Regions from separate parts of the Homo sapiens genome. Here region 1 is linked to region 2. The links are contacts of gene promoters, found by promoter capture Hi-C in human tissues and cell types (Jung and others, 2019). All regions are on one chromosome and are shown on one strand. Each heading gives the region's core, a stretch centred on a gene start or on the middle of the fragment in contact. The rest is flanking DNA. Distances are from core to core; before and after follow the strand shown. Region 1 overlaps SYNPO2 (synaptopodin 2). Region 2 holds the start of METTL14 (methyltransferase 14, N6-adenosine-methyltransferase non-catalytic subunit).

The links. Contacts are between HindIII fragments. The study calls those that stand out against the background at their distance.
Region 1: a contact is called between a fragment that was not itself captured here and the fragment with the promoter of METTL14 in region 2, in 2 of the 25 tissues and cell types used here (lymphoblastoid cells and mesenchymal stem cells).

Annotation. Positions count from the first base shown.
Region 1 is chr4:118,941,860-118,944,559 of GRCh38, reverse strand. All of the region lies in intron 1 of SYNPO2 (synaptopodin 2), which reads right to left. Among named protein-coding and RNA genes, the nearest start is that of SYNPO2-AS1, 42 kb to the left of the region's middle. The HindIII fragment of the contact is 4,120 bases long and covers 1-2,700 here.
Region 2 is chr4:118,684,098-118,686,797 of GRCh38, reverse strand. It overlaps METTL14 (methyltransferase 14, N6-adenosine-methyltransferase non-catalytic subunit), which reads right to left and starts at 1,406. Exons shown (of 11, transcript NM_020961.4): 1 at 1,198-1,406. The coding sequence starts at 1,263. It overlaps METTL14-DT (METTL14 divergent transcript), which reads left to right and starts at 1,457. Exons shown (of 7, transcript NR_125930.1): 1 at 1,457-1,493; 2 at 2,331-2,390. RefSeq lists enhancers at 868-1,007, 1,188-1,447. The HindIII fragment of the contact is 10,452 bases long and covers 739-2,700 here.

The DNA of each region.
Region 1 (2,700 bases), core at 195-2,694, 260 kb before region 2:
AATCAGCGTTAACAGTCAGTGAGTGGCTTAGCTTAGTTTTGGCTGATATTTGTTGCTATTTGACTCAAGTTGTTCTGCTACTCCCAATATGGATATGTCCATTTATTTTATTTATTTTGGTGGAGCCATTGCTTTATTTTTACTGTAGATATTCCAAAAATAATTAAGGAGTTAGCTAAGAAACTGGGGTTGGGGTAACTTGATTTCCCCAGGACTAAAGAGTTTCCCAAGAAGTATGAGTTTCAATTTTAGCACCAGGACAGTCCCAGGCAAACTGCAATGAATTGGTAGTCTACTGCGAGTAGACTGGTAGCATTATTTTATTAATTATCCTTTTATAACACTAATCTATCTCAAGTACACTTAATGTGCACTTGATTTGACACTAAAAAGCCATCCTAGATTAAGCCTATGTGGCCAAAGTAAAGCTGACATCAAAGAAAAGAACTTGAGGATAAAATTCTTGCCTAATCTAGGAATTCCCAGATTTTGAAGAGTAGTATCACAGCTTAGAAATTAAACTTTAACATGTAAAAAGCACAGTAATATCTTTAATAAACATCTTAACAGAAATTTGGTTGTACACAAATGTGGCGTTACTTCCACGTAGGTATGTAGCACTGAAAGCAACATAACTGTCAAGTAACGTTTTGCTAACACACACACCTCAATATGAGTGTTCCTCCTGAAACAGTCACCTTGAGAGGTACACACTTAGCACAGTGATGTTGATTTGGCATAAGACATTTCTAACACTCATTTTAAAATTGCCTTTAGAGTCAGATTTACTTAATTTATAGCCTGTCCTCAATTTTTATGAAAATGGCATTGGGAGTATGGATGACTTTCCTTATTCATCTTATATAGGGTTCAAGTAACTTAATTTTTTCCTAAAACCAAATTCCTGCCTCAGAGGGCAATGTTTACTACCACTGATGATATTCAAAAGAGCATGACACATGAAGACAGTTCCAAAAAGATATGACAGCATCTCTTTGATCAACGGCAGCATGTTAGCATGAAAAAACAACTCAAATTTTAAAGAGAGCAACTTTGAAGTTATAAATTCTATATAATTGTTCCCTTCCCCCACATCACTTATGTTAATTTAGTCATACCTTTTAACTGTCAGCTAAAAAGCCTATGATTTTGGTTCTCATGCTAAACCCTGACTTCAGCATTGTCATTCCATGTCTCAATCTACCTAATTATTTGCTCTGATACCGAGCCCCTCTCTTGTAGCTTGCAATGTTTTCTCCTCTGAAAATTACTTTTCCCCTTAGGGCTGCTGTCTTTACTTCTAAGATATCAGCAAGTTACCTTGTAATTGCTTCATGGAGAAGTCTGGGGACATGGTTGGTTGTGTGAGGTCTTTTTAGGTAAACTTGTCAACACACCATCCTTTAATAAAGTTTTTTTTCAACCTCAACACTATTGACTTTTTTTTTTTTTTGAGATGGAGTCTCGCTCTGTCACCCAAGCTGGAGTGCAGTGGCATGATCTTGGCTCACTGCAACCTCTGCCTCCCAGGTTCAAGAGATTCTCCTGCCTCAGCCTCCCAAGTAGCTGGGATTACAGGCGCATGCCCCCATGCCCAGCTAATTTTTGTATCTTTAGTAGAGATGGAGTTTCACTATGTTGGCCAGGATGGTCTCGAACTCCTGACCTCAAGTGATCTGCCTACCTTAGCCTCCCAAAGTGCTGGGATTATAGGTGTGAGCCACTGCACCTGACCAACTGACATTTTAGGTTAGATAATTTTTTGTTGTTAGGGGAGCTGTCCTGTGTATTGCAGGAAGTTTAGCAGCATCTCTGGCCTCTATCCACTAGATGCCAGTTGTGACAACCACAATGTCTCCGGTCATTGCCAAATGTCCCCTGTGGCAACATTATCCCCAGTAAAGAACCATTGGCTGACACAGGGATGTAGAGATGAGTCATTCTCTTTATAGGGTTTTAAGTAATACATTATACTGCTGAGCCAGATTAAACTTTGAAAGGAAAGAAAAAAACCCTCACATTTAAAGTAAATGAAAATATGTTTTAATTAATTGATAGAGCAAAATCTAAATTTAGAAAAAAATGTTGTGCTTTCCAGGTGAAACACGAACTATGTATACAAGATAGAAAGCTGTCCATTCATTCTTTCATTCAGTCAATATTTACTGAGCATATACCAAGTGCCAGAGACCCCATGCCGGGCACAGGGGTTACAGTGGTGAACAAGATAGACAGATGTCTGCTCTCAAGAAACAACATAGCAAGTTTGGGACATGTGTTACAATATAGTGAGATACGTACCTTCCCACAATAGGTGGTAGAGTAGTGCATTTATTAATCATGTTTTTTATATTCTGTATTTTATGATGTTTTGATATTTTGATGGAATAGAAAGGCTTGAGGGCTGGGGAGAGACTGTCCTTCCCAGAGCTAGTTAATTCCTAATATGATAAATAACTTGCCGTCCAGTATTCCTTTCATATGTAAACCAAGCATTAGTGAGTCCATCTCCCTAACCACTTCCTTTATCTCTCACACACTAAGCCAATATTTCCTGCCCTAAATCAACACAGGACTAGAAACCCAGCCAACCAGGGATAGCTCCTATGTCCCAAAGCCTGCCAGAATTATTAAAACTGGCTAACCCTAAACTGTTTCCCCTGACTCGCCTTGCCTTTCCTACGGAAAACACAGTAAAGG
Region 2 (2,700 bases), core at 157-2,656:
ATAATTGTCCTATGAATGTATATTGAGTCAAATAGAAGTTTGAATTCAATATTAAGGAGTAAAACGTCTTCTGTGGTAGCAACAAAGAGCTACTTAACATTTTTGAAGATAATACGATAAAAGAAGTTGGCGAAAAGAAGACTTAGAAAGGATACTTGATTTGCCCAAGATCGTAATGCCAGCGGGATAAGGAACAAAGGAACAAATCTGACTCCAAGTTTCCACGGTTTTAGCCATATTCCACAAATCTGTTCATCAGACCATAAAGAGGATAGGTTTCAGAAGTCCATTTACTAAAACCAAGTTTCATTACTGAAAAATAACTGCAAGATGACTAATTACACTCTATGAGCATTGCTCCTATCACTTTTACTGATCTGAATAGTAGAATGGAAAATACAGCCTCGATTTTAAGTAGAACTGTGCACAATCTGTATTTTCTGCATGTGCACTCTACTAATCAGCAAATGTTAACTTACTCATACACAAGAAAGAAGTGAAGGACAATGGTTTAGAAGACAAGCTTTGGGGAGACAAACCTAGGTTCTATTTCCCAGCAGAGAAGTGAGCGACCAGGAGTAAAATTCCTTAACGTATGGAGCCTTTTTCATTACTTGATAAGTGAAGGTAATAATACCTGTTTCAGGAGATTATTGTGACTAACACAGAGTAAGATTTCAAATATTAACTGTGGATGTGACAAGGATACTCTATATAAGATGCAGAATCTAAAATTTACACTCAGGCTACTTCCAGTGTTGTCTTCAGAAAGATGTCAAAGAAAATACTGTAAACGTATTTCATAATGAAACCACAATCTCAAGAATTTGGGGCTGACGACGAAGAAAAGAAAGAAATAGATGACCATTTAATAGTGAAGAGAAATGTAGGGGATAACATGACACTCATCCTGGCGTGAACATGCCAGACACTCGGTGGGAGTTCCACAAAGCTTAAAGGCTAATCCTGGCATTCGGTTTAGCACCACAAAGACCGCGGAAGGAACTGGAAAAACATTCGGGACACCGCGAAAATTGAGAACTACAAAGGCAGAACCAGGGATCAAGATCGCAGGACCAGAAAGGCCTTAACAGCGGCAGGTAGAGAAGGGACAGAAAAAGGCGGGGTGTGGAGGGAGGAGGCGGCCGCGCACTCGCATTCTCGATCCCTCCCACAGGGGACACCAGGGCCGCGGACCTGCTGCGCGAGGAGCTGTCGCCGTAACTTCTGCCGCTCCCGGATCTCCTGCAAGCGGCTATCCATGTTCCAACTCCGGCTTTTCACTATCCCGAGTACTTGTCAATCTCCAGTGAACTCTTATCCAACCTTTCTTCCGAGTCTGTGGAACAAAATTCACCGGGAGCTTACGAACAGAGTATCCTCATAGCTTTCCTCAGTAGAGACTTCCGGCGCGGCCGGAATTGGCTCGCTTGGCCCGGAAGTCCCGCCTCCTTCTGGACGCTTGCTATGTGACGCCACTTGGAAGGGACCCAGTAAGGGATCTGTTGCGCCACAGGGGTCTCCAGGGCCCTCGCAGGTTGGGGTGGTCTGAGCTAGTCTGAAGGAGGACAGTCAGCTGACTTCTCCTTTATCTCTCTTTCCCAGGATAGCAGGTTCCCTTGGTGTATTACAGTTTCTGAAGTGTTGATTCCCTTTTCAATTGATTCCACAGATGACAGTCCTGACGTTTAAAAAATTGCCAGATAACCTTTAATTTTTTTTTTTTTAACAGAACACAAACTTAAGCCAGATTGCCTAGGATTGAACCTTGGCCTCTCACTTCCTAGACGAGTGGCCTTGGCTAGTTAACCACCTTCGTGAGCCTCAGTTTTGTCATCTGTAAAATGGGAGTCATAAGTGTCTACCTCACAGAGCTGTGATTGAAAGGATAAATAGCACCTTGCACATAGCGGTGTAGAAGTGCTTGTTATTGTTAATATTTTATTTACCTTCACGCAGGTAACAGCCACAACATCTGCCCACTCTTCCCCACACCTTACTGTCCCTTGAAATGTTTCCCATTTTACTATAGTATGCATTTTTTGGCTTCTTCCCTTTAGGGAAATGAGTATGTGATAGTAAAGCGTGTCTTGGTTTATGTCCTAGGAGTCAGAAGCTAAGAGACTCCTTTTTGTGCTTGTACATTTGTCTTAACTGAAAATAACCCAAGGATAAGGAAACAAATAGCTTCCTGAAATTACTCGGATTGCGGGGGTGAGGGGTGAGGGCTGGGGGGTGGTGATTCTGTCTTCATAGGATGGCAGCAAAGGCCAAAGTCTTATTTGAGTTATTACCATTATTATTCACCACACTTGCCATCTTATTTCAAGCCTACAGTGGCGGAAGTGGAGTAAGACATCATGTTGCCTCAAGTTTAATTGGAAATCGCGGTAAGTACTTAACAAAATTAGTAATAAGTCTGTTCTTTCAGAGTAGATTTAATTTTCAGAAATAATATTAAGTCATCCAGATCAAAACCAGTTGAGTCAGGCTGGGCCAAAAGTGGGCAAGACTAGATTCTACTTAGTCATGCCCACTTTTATAGAAATAATTATAATGTATTTCCGAAGAACTAGGTCTGAAAGACAATTTTGAACAAGTAGTCCTAAACAATTCCTTGAGTAATGTCAGCACTACTTGGATACTGTAAAATATTTATGTCCATATGAGTTAAAGTGTATTTCTTTAAAAATCAGTTGT